3 separate regions of the Homo sapiens genome follow, and regions 1 and 3 are each linked to region 2. Evidence: promoter capture Hi-C in 16 types of primary human blood cells and fetal thymus (Javierre and others, 2016). All regions are on one chromosome and are shown on one strand. The core of a region is centred on a gene start or on the middle of the fragment in contact, and the rest is flanking DNA. Distances in the headings are between cores, read along the strand shown.

Evidence for each region. The method cuts DNA at HindIII sites, captures the fragments that hold promoters and counts their contacts. A CHiCAGO score of 5 or more calls a contact.
Region 1: a fragment that was not itself captured here is called in contact with the fragment with the promoter of MATN3 in region 2 in 8 of 17 cell types (non-activated CD4 T cells, total CD8 T cells, naive B cells and 5 more); the score reaches 7.8 in non-activated CD4 T cells.
Region 3: a contact is called between a fragment that was not itself captured here and the fragment with the promoter of MATN3 in region 2, in 6 of 17 cell types (naive CD8 T cells, total CD4 T cells, fetal thymus and 3 more). The highest score is 6.9, in naive CD8 T cells.

Annotation. Positions count from the first base shown.
Region 1 is chr2:18,532,272-18,535,783 of GRCh38, reverse strand. LOC105373454 (a long non-coding RNA gene) reads right to left here. Exons shown (of 8, transcript XR_001739302.1): 8 at 392-3,512. Among named protein-coding and RNA genes, the nearest start is that of RDH14, 27 kb to the left of the region's middle. The HindIII fragment of the contact is 3,010 bases long and covers 573-3,512 here.
Region 2 is chr2:20,010,628-20,014,340 of GRCh38, reverse strand. MATN3 (matrilin 3) reads left to right here and starts at 1,673. Exons shown (of 8, transcript NM_002381.5): 1 at 1,673-1,932. The coding sequence starts at 1,710. RefSeq lists an enhancer at 1,957-2,569. The HindIII fragment of the contact is 3,809 bases long and covers 1-3,143 here.
Region 3 is chr2:18,509,826-18,513,546 of GRCh38, reverse strand. All of the region lies in intron 6 of LOC105373454 (a long non-coding RNA gene), which reads right to left. Among named protein-coding and RNA genes, the nearest start is that of RDH14, 49 kb to the left of the region's middle. The HindIII fragment of the contact is 1,229 bases long and covers 800-2,028 here.

The DNA.
Region 1 (3,512 bases), core at 828-3,327, 1.5 Mb after region 2:
TTCTATGCCTGGCACATTTAGGCAACCAGAAAAAGTCAACTAACTATTTTGAAATTATCTATAAGTGTAAGTGTCTTTTATATTCTAGATATGTACTGAGTGCTAGTGATATATTGATTAATAAGACTGATTGGCCAGGTGTGGCGGCTCATGCCTATAATCCCAGCACACTGGGAGGCCAAGGTGGGTGGATCTCTTGAGGTCAGGAGTTCGAGACCAGCCTGGCCAACATAGTGAAACCCCATCTCTACTAAAAGTACAAAATAGCCAGGCGTGGTGGTGGGCACCTGTATTCCCAGCTACTCGAGAGGCTGAGGCAGGAGAATCGCTTGAACCCAAGAGGCAGAGGTTGCAGTGAACTGAGATTGCGCCACTGCACTCCAGCCTGGGCAACAGAGCGAGACTCTGTCTCAAATAAAAAAAAAAAATGACTGATTTTTTTTCCCCATCAAAGTACTCACAGTCTAGCAGATGTAGATAAACATACACATGCACAAAAAAGCTATAATGCAAAATGGTAGAGTCTATGGTAAACAGCTCAAAGTATAACTAAACTTGGTTCTTGGGAAGCTTTGGATAAGCATGTAATGTTGAGTTGGCCTGTGAAGCACGGGATCCTTGTGGGAGAAGGGGAAGAGATGTGTTGCAGGCTGTAGAAAAACATATGAGGAGGCACAGAGACGTGGCCTTGGTGTGGCAGGAGACTGAAGACGACAGAGGACCCTGGAGAGATGGATGAAATCAATATCGCAAAAGGTCTGAAGGGCATGTGGAGGAATGTAAAGGGGACCTAGACTTTTAGACAGTAGGGCAGATCAGAGCTTTCTTAGCATATGAATGGCACAGTTGGCACTGATTTCAGATAGATTACAATCACAAGGATAGGGTATATTAAAGTGGGGACGGTGGTGACAGACCAGCTAGTTAGGAGATTGGTACTCTGATCTAAGAAAGAGCTAGTCAGGGTTTCTGCCAGCCTCACAAAAATTGAGAGAAGTGATAGCTACTCTAGGAGAAGAATTGACAGCTCAGGAAATTTACCAGATGTGGGAAGTCAGTAAGAGAGTAGAGGCTAGAAAGATTTTAAATGGGATTAAAATAACAAAACTGATTCTTGGCCTTTGGCACGTAGGCATCCCCTTGGCACCTGGCCCACCCTGAAACAGGGCAGAAGAAACTCCAATAACCTCAGCCTTCTCTGGAAGACTTAATTTTCCCAGACCAGTCTGAGGAGAGACTAGAAAGTGACCACTGGTGCCAAAGGAAGGATCTATCTAGGCCTGAGGCAGCACAATGATTTCTCTTCATTCACTCATCTTGTTAATCCTTTCTTAATCAAACATTTATTAAGCAGCTTCCATCTGACCTCAAGTAACTTGGTGGAGGAAGTAGGAAAGTAGATTTTGTGGGATGAATTTTGTCCCTCTAAATTCATATGTTGAATCCCTAACCCTCACCTTAGAATGTGACTGCATTTGGAAATAAAGCCTTTAAAGAGGTAAATAAGTTAAAATGAAGCCATTAGGGTGGGCCCTCATGTAATCTGACTCATGTCTTTCTAAGAAAAGGACATTTAGACACACACAGAGATACCAGGGATGCACACAAAGAGGAAAGGCCAAGTGAAGACAGGGTGAAGCCGTGGAGAGAAGCCTCGGAAGGAACCGTCACTGTCGACACCTTGATCTTGGACTTCCAGCCTCTGGAACCATGAGAAAATACATTTCTATTAAGCCCCCCAGACTGTGCTATTTTGTTATGGCATTTCTAGCAAATGAACACAATGGATGACTACAATTTGTAGTGATGAATTTGATACAGTTGAAACCTGGTACAATGGGGCACAAAGGGAATCGTGATCAATTCAGCCCATGAGATCTAGGGGAGCAAGAAGTCCTCAAATGAGGTTCTGAAGGATGAGCAGGAATTTGCCAAGCAAAAATTGAAGGATGCCATCCTAGGCAGAGGAATTTCTGCTTTTGGCTCCGCAGTTTGTCGCTCCATATTAGTCCTGTCCATTCCCAGGGTCTGTTTGCCTCAGCTCTCTTCCAGCTAGACCCTATTTTCAAAAAGAGCACGAGCTCTGTTCTTTCTCGAGGCAACTCTCTGCTTTGCCTGATGCTGCTTGGCTACATCCCGAGCAAGCTGCCTTCAAGAGTTTGTAAAATCACTGCTGACAGCCACAGCCCACATGGCCCTGCCAGCACAGGCTCCTCCAAATGGCCCTTCATCCAGAGAGCATTGACCTAGTCTCATGGATTGGCCCTGCTTGAAACGCATGCCTTTTTGTGCACCACCATGACCAGGGAAATGGTGGTGTTCCCTGATTGCCAGGGCAGCCGGGGTGACCATAGCAACTCTGTGATTGCTGCTATCAGAACCACATGAAATGGGTTTAGGAAAGAGGAGCTCTCTTATCAAATGTAGAAGGAATACCAGGTAGACAAAAGCAGCAGCCGTTCATTGCAGTATTATTTTTACTGCCATTTAGAGAAGAGAAAACGGAGGCTTGGAGAAGAAGTGGCTTGTGAGCATTAAACATTCATTCATTAATTCAGCCATAAGTTATTAAGCACGTACTATATGTTAAGCACCATGCTAGGTCCTTGGAATCTATTAATGACTGAAACAAACAAACACTTCTAGTTTTATGTAGATTGAACTAGAGGGGAAAGTGGCATCCAAAAAAAATAAAATTTACAAATCAATTAATTGTATACCAAGAAGGTGATCAGGGAAAAAAATCAGGGAAGGAAAAGGGGTGCAGACAGAGATAGTAATAATTTCACAGGGTGAGTCTCATTAAGAAGTTTATATGTAGGCAGAGACATAAAGGAGGTGAACCCATTGGTTAGGCCAAGGAAGAAGCAATACAAGGGCCATCAAGTAGGAGCTGCGTCTGGCATTGTTGGAGGACAAGTAGCCAGGAGGACAATGTGGCTAGAGAAAAGTGAACAAGGTTAGCATATGAGTCAGGGTGATTGGAGCTTAACAGTTTTCACCTTAGGTGGCTTGGGTTTCTACTAAGAACTTAAAAGGACCTCAGGCCAGTGCTTCCAAGGACGTAGGCTGCCATTAAGGGAAGTGGGGAGCCATCGCAGGATTTTGAGCAGATCAGTACTTTGATCTGATTCAGAAGGATCACTCTGACTGCAGGGGTGAGAATGGACTTCTCCGTATTTTCAGTAGGAGAAGAAAGCACACAGCTTAAATCCAGCCCTGGCTTTCTCTGACTCCAGAATCTCAGCACTTATCCTGTGGTGTACAGGGAGGGCCTGGAGCCCTTGAGTGTGGAAACTTTTAGACAGCGAGACCCTGAGGACTTAGCAAGGCCTGTGTCCTGATAACCCCCATCTTCCTACCTCCAACCAGGTAGAGGGCATTTCCTAACCAGTATTTCATACCTAGAGAATCTTTCGAAAAGTCTCCTTGCCGACCCCCATCTCTGTGTCAATGAAGAGATTTTATGGGCTTGTTTAAGAACCCCATTTGCTTTTTATACAGATTTTTTT
Region 2 (3,713 bases), core at 424-2,923:
ATCCCTCATAATCTCAATTACTCCCCCCACCCTCTCTCTATATGTATGTGTATATAAAATTTATTGGTTTTGTTTCTCTCAAGAACCCTGACTAATGTAGGGTTCAAAGGCTTTGGGGATCATTCTAAAAGCAAGACGAAAGACAAATGTCCACCAGAGCTTGCAAATACTGTATTTATCAATCCCTCCTCTTCTTGGCATAGTTTCTTTCAAACTTCTTAGTGTCCTCTTCCCATTATTACAAACTTCTCGTTTCTTCTAAGGTCCTTCTAAATTGGTGAGTTCTCAGTGGGAGTTGAGTGACCTTTTCCCTCAGTGTGACTATCACTGCCCAATGTCATTGATACATTATACAACTCCCCATCCCCACTTCCCCTCAGCTCCTGTTAACCACCATTCTTTCTGTCTCTATGAATTTGACTACTCTAGATTCCCCATGTAAATGGAATCATACAGTATTTGTCTTTTTGTGACTAGCTTATTTCACTTAACATAATACTCTCAAGGTTCATCCATTTTGTAGCATCTGCCAAAATTTCCTCCCTTTTAAGGCTGAACAGTATTCCATTGTACGTAGATACTGCATTTTGCTTTTCCATTCACACAAAGAGAGACACTTGGGTTGTTTCCGCCTCTTGGCTATTGTGTATAATGCTGCTACCAGCATGGGGTACAAATATGAGAAGTGAGGTTTAGGATCGTGTGAGGAGGATCACTTGTAGAGGGAAAATAGTGAAATAGGACGACCAGATAGGCTCTGTTGGAACTCGCGCCCATTGTTTTAAGACGCAGCTCAAATGTCACCTGGTTTTAGAAGTCTTCCTGGTCTCCGCAGGCAGTCAGTATCTCTTTCCTAAATCCACCACATTCCCGTAGACAGACACCACATTTATGCAAATCTCCTTCTCACAGACAGTGAGTTCCATGGGGGTCCCCTGGCAGCCTCCAGCCCTGTACCATGCTAACTCTTCCGGAGAGGAAATGGGGCCTCGGGAGAGCCTTTGAAGCCTGTGTTGGTACAGGCTGTCCTTCCAGCTAACGGGGCTCTCTGGGGAATGTATGTTTGACTTTCTATTCCCGGTAATATAAGTTCAAATGTTTGTGGATATTTGAAGCTCGGATGAAAGCGTTTCTATTCATGCCCCTAGAATCTGTGAGGCCTTTTCTTTCTTTTTTTTTTTTTAAACAAGAGCCCACAGCAAAACTTGGGTTACTTGGCTGAGGAAAGGAATGTAGAGCTAGGAGCAGGGTTTCATCTTCAGCCCCAGTCGGGCAAACCAGTGGCAGAAGGGAAAGCAGAGCCCAGGGGTCCCCATCCCGTACCTGGGGCGCAGGCCCCGCTGGGGTGGGAGGGAGAGTGGAGGGCCGGGCAGGCTGCAGCCGCGGATGGCTGCCCCCCCTGCCCCGGTGTTACTGGGAGGACGGAGGTTGCGACAGCAGCCGAGCCCACCCAGTTGCAGCCGGCTCGGGGCTTAGGGCAGGGGCGGGAGGTGACCACCGCGCCGCTGGCCGCCTCGCCCAGACATTCCGTTTCTGCCGCTGGAATGCGCGGACAAGGCTCCTTGTTGGCCTTGGGCGGGGTTCGCCGGGCCGGCCTGGCGCTCGAGGCCCCGGGGCGGGGCGGGGCCCGAGGCCGCGGGACCTTTAAATCCGAGCCTCGCGTGGGCTCCTGGCCCCCGACGGACACCACCAGGCCCACGGAGCCCACCATGCCGCGCCCGGCCCCCGCGCGCCGCCTCCCGGGACTCCTCCTGCTGCTCTGGCCGCTGCTGCTGCTGCCCTCCGCCGCCCCCGACCCCGTGGCCCGCCCGGGCTTCCGGAGGCTGGAGACCCGAGGTCCCGGGGGCAGCCCTGGACGCCGCCCCTCTCCTGCGGCTCCCGACGGCGCGCCCGCTTCCGGGACCAGCGAGCCTGGCCGCGCCCGCGGTGCAGGTACAGGCGGGCGGCGGGAGGGACGCGTGAGCATCGAACGAGGAGAAGCCCAGGGCATCCACCAAGCGCGCTTCATCCCGGCCTCAGGCCGACCGTGGTGCGGGGGAAAGAGGCCCCTCCCGGATGAATCCTGTGGGGGAAACTGAGGTCCAGAGAAGGGGAGGGAGATGCCCAATATCACTCATGTGTCCAGGCTAGAGATGTGGGTCTCCTGAAGCTCTCACTCCCCTGTGATTCGGCCAGGAGCACAGGGCAGCTGGGGAGCGCAGGGGCTGCTGCCCAGCGGCTGCTGCTAAGCTCCGTCCCAGTCCTGACCTCTCCATTCAGTGAGCAAACCCTTCCTGAGACTCTGCTGTTAGTTCTCTTGGAATCTCTCCATCTCCATCCAATATCAGGGCGTGATCTTTCCTCCCCTCCCACAGTCCTCAGGCTGCCTCAGACTGGAAGGTAAGGGATGCGGGTGTGAGACCAGGAGGAGATCCGAGGAGCCGTAGGATACCCCAGGATCAAGACACTCTGGGTCTTTGGCGAACAATTCTATTTCTCTTTTTGGTCAGCAATTGATTCCTGAAGCAGAGCAAAGCTCATAGTGCAGCGAAGCGGGCAGGTCGTCTGACACAGCCCCTGACAGCACATGAAGGGAAACTGAGGCATATCAAGTTGAAGGGACTCTGTGAATCAGTATCAGAGGCCACAATAAAATTCAGGGCTCCGAAATCCCAAGCAAGGTCTCTTTCCACTGCCCCAGCCTACCAACCTCTTAATATGGTTTACATAAGATTGTATCTTCATTTCCAAAAAGCGCAGCTTCAGTCTTGCTAAAAAGAGTCTGTGCCAGGCCATTTCTGGGTATGCAGTCTCATTTGGCCAGCCACGCTGCATGCCTCAGGCTGATTTCAATTGTCTATCCCCTTCTGCATCTTTCTGGATAAGCTGAGAAGGAGCTCAAGGGACTCTTTCCTGACTCAAATACTCAGTCCCCGTATTTGAAGTGGCAGATTTGAAATGGCAAAAGCATTGCTGCTAAGGCAGGAGGTACCGGGGTCCACAGGGCTAGATTCAGCTGGTGGCTGGTTGCTCCAGGCCGGGAATTGAGGGAAAGCCTTTCTTCTGGAAGTTAATCTTACTCTAGTCCTGACCTGCCTCCCTCTGGGATGGGACTGGAAGAGGAAGGAGAGATTCAGCACCAGGTGGCCATGTCCCCCTAAGCTTTACTGGTCTTTCATTACCTAGAGTCCGAACCTGATCATGAATGATAACCCATTAATAAATGCGAGATTCCACCCTGTTCCAAATTATCTCCTTTTAGCAACCAGAAATTGCTAAGCTTCGCTATGGATTTTTATTTCTAGCAGGACTGTAAGGACTCAGTGGTATTATGAGTATGGGAACATTTTAGGAGATTCAGATTCTTTCTTTGTTCTTGGGAATCAAATTGCTGCTATTTAGTAAATGGGAGTGAGATTCAAAAACAACTAATGATTGATGCGGAGTACCAGTCAGGAAGGAACCAGATGTTCACAGAATTTTCTGCCACCATGGTCAAGCCTCAGGTATTAGTTTTCTATGGCCACTGTAACAAATTACTGTGAATTTAGTGCCTTAAGACAACACACATTTATTACCTGAGAGTTCTGTGGGTCAGAAGTCTGACCCTGGTCTCACTGGGCTAAGATGAAGGTGTCGGCAGGGCTGTGTTCCTTTTGGGAGGCTCTAGGGGAGACTGCATTTCCCTTCCCTTTCCACCGCATGAAGGCTGCTGAGTTCCTTGGCTTATGGCC
Region 3 (3,721 bases), core at 165-2,664, 1.5 Mb after region 2:
AAAAAATCAAATTCACAGACGTAGAGAGTAGAAAGGTGGTTAGCAGAATCTGGGGAGGGGTGGGTTGGGAAAACAGAGATATTGGTCAGAGGGTACAAGTTTCAGTTAGACAGGAAGAATAAGTTTACAGATCTATTGTACAGCATGGTGACTATAGTTAACAAAATGCATTATTGGTCAACTGATGGTCACAGTCAATTAATAGTGCATCATGTGTATATATCAGGAGAAAAATAGATGCAGGGCACATAGTTAATATAATCTAATATCATAAACATATTTGTGTATATATATGTGTGTATTTATATACACATATGTGTGTATATGTATTTATATAACCCACATACATATTCAAACATGTGTCTATAAAATACCAAAACAACACTAGTAAAATAATGATTGGGTGTTTAATAATTTTCTCATTCATTTAATTTTATAAATTCACAAATAAATTTGTAGTTTTTATTATCATAAAAATTATAAAGCATGTAATCCCATCACTTTGGGAGGCCAAGGTGGGCCAATCACGAGGTCAAAAGATGGAGACCATCCTGGCCAACATGGTGAAACCCTGTCTCTACTAAAAATACAAAAATTAGCTGGGCGTGGTGGTGTGCGCCTGTAGTCCCAGCTGCTCGGGAGGCTGAGGCAGGAGAATCGCTTGAACCCAGGAGGCGGAGGTTGTAGTGAGCTGAGATCACACCACTGCACTCCAGCCTGGCAACAGAGTGAGGCTCTCTCTAAAAATAATAATAATAATAAATAGTAAAACTTATCTCACAAATGAATGACATAAGCTTCTTTCTGATACTGATTGTTAGAAATCCTGAAATCTATGTAAAACAGCCATCCTTTCCTCCAAGACCCCACGTGTCACTGGAGCCACAATATTGAGCTTACTCTAACATAGCTAAGATGTCAAGAAAGAAGACAATTTCAGCTTAAGTAGTGTGGCTGGTTAGGTTTTTTGAGTAAGTTCTCCTTCTGAAAATATCTGAAATGCTATCCAAAATATATTTTTATATAATAAACACAGAAGAGCTTATAATATAGTAAGAAATTATCTGGTCAAAATCTATGTAAAGGCAGGAAACCAGAGATGTAAGGGGACACTCATGGCCACATTTTCCTGAGAGTATTGGGCAAATCAGATTAAAATACAGAGTGTGGAAGCCACACACCAAAGGCCACGCTTTCCCAGGAGGAGAATCCGCTAAACAACATATGCCTGTAAAGCTGGGATCCAACCAAAAATAAATCTGTTTTGCCTAATACACCACAATAAACCTGTGTCTCTCCTTTCCTGCAGGGGCCACATAGAAATCTGCCTTGGTACTGAGAAAATAGTCTCTGAGAAGTTGTCACCACAAATTATCCCTAACACATACTGAGAGTCCAAATTCACAATAATTGTTAAAAATAATCTTCAGACCAGGCACGGTGGCTCATGCCTGTAATCCCAGCACTTTGGGAGGCCGAGGCGGGTGGATCAGGAGGTCAGGAGTTCGAGACCAGCCTGGCCAACATGGTGAAACTCCATCTCTACTAAAAATACAAAAAAATAGGAAGGCATGGTGGCAGGTGTCTGTAATCCCAGCTACTTGGGAGGCGGAGGCAGGAGAATTGCTTGAACCCGAGAGGCAGAGGTTGCAGTGAGCTGAGATCATTCCACTGCACTCTAGCATGGGCGACAGAGCAAGACTCCGTCTTGGGGAAACAAAAATAAAAAAATAAAAAATAAATCTTCAAACTGCGCAGATTCAAATTGCAGAGGCAAATATCAGTACTCTCTGGAGGAATGCACTATCATTCTATCCTTGAAGAAGGCCCAGAAATAATTTTCCAAATAAACGCAGCAGCTCACAGTCCAAAAAGAACAAGGAGACAATAAACCATAAGTAAGAAGCAGCAAACAAACAAACAAAGGCAACAGGCAAAGTTTTGCAAAGACCTAAGATACTAGAATTGTCAGACACAGTTTAATAAATAATTAACTATATTGTGTTTAAATACATTAAAAGGAAAGCTTTAAAAATCTGTGGAGTGGAAATCCACAAAAAATGACAGCAGATTTGACAAAAATTAGAAATTTTTCAAATAAAGAGACGATTAAAATTAAAAACTCAATGATCAGTTTTAACCATAGATTAGAGACAGCTAAAAAATAATTGGTAAATTGTAAAACAGATTCAGAATAAATCATCCAGATTATAACATAAACAAAGAGACCTATAATGTGATAGAGAAGTTATGAGACATAAAACATTAAGTGAAATGGTCTTAGCATATTTTCAGACTCCCAGAAGGAGGGCATAGATAACATGTTTAAAAAGAAATATCTGAAGATATAACAGTTTAGAAATTTCCAGAAATGGCAAAAGACATTAATTTAGAGACCCAAGGAATTCAATGAATCAGAAACAGAAAAAAATTAAAGAAAAGCCAAGTTAAACACATTATAGGAAAACTGGTGAACACCCCAGAGATAAAAAGCTGAAGCTTGGTGGTGTTGGTGGTGGTAATGGCAGGGCACTGAAGGGAAGCGTTGTCTTTAAGGCAATGATAGACGAACAGCTGACTTTTGAACTGCAGCAATTGAATCCAAAGAAATGGAATGATATCTTTATTTTGTGTGTTTGTGTGTGATGGGTGCTGTGAGGGGTACTGCTGTCCTCAAATTCTCTATCCAGAAAACACATCTCTCAGGAATGGGGGCAAAACTAAAACATTTTCAGGTAAATTAAACTATATATTTCTTAGCAGCTGACTCTCACTAAAAGAAATTCTGAAAAAAAAAATTTCAGGCAGAAGAAAACTGATGCCAGATTGAAGGTCTGAGCCATAGGATGGAATAAAAACAGAGAAAGTGGGAATATGTGAATATCTAACAACATCTGACTCTATTCAGATTGCTGTCACAAATTACCATAAAGTAGGTGGCTTGTAAACAATAGAAATTCATTTCTCACAGTTCTAGAGGGTGGGAAGTGCAAAATCAAGGCAGCACCAAATTTGGTGTCTGGGGAGGGCTCACTCTGTATTTCATACTTGGTGCTTTCCTGCTGTATCCTTACATAGCAGAAGGGGCTAGCTAGCTCTCTGGGGTATCTTTTTGTAAGGGCAGTAATCCCATTCACGAAGGCAGAGGTTTCATGAGCTAATCACCTCCCAAGAACTTCTAATACCTCCTTCTAACACTGTCACATTGGGCTTTCGATTTCAACATATTAATTTTGGGAGGGACACAAACATTCAGTCCATAGCAAGTACTGCCTATATAAACATTAAGATAATGTCTATGGGCATACAAGACAAAACTAAACATGTAAGTTAGAAAGCGGGTAACTAGAGCCAATGCAATCTAAAATTATTACACTGTGCAGAAAGGGTAAAAATGTTGATTAATTTCAGACTTTTATGAGTTTAGAGTTTATGCCTTAATTTCTATGGTAATTGCTAAAATAACAGAAACAGAGTGCATATTTACTAGAGGTTAAAAAAATAGAATGATAAAAACACTTCCCATCAAAGTTAAGACAGAAGAAGAAAACAATATAGAAGAACAAATAGAAAGGACAAAATTATATAAAAGATAAATCCATATATAACATACAATATAAATATAGAATAAATGTTCTAATTAAAAAATAAAGATTATTAGACAGATTAAAATATTCATGTGGAAGCTTTTTATAAGACACATATATAAACCATAAAGATA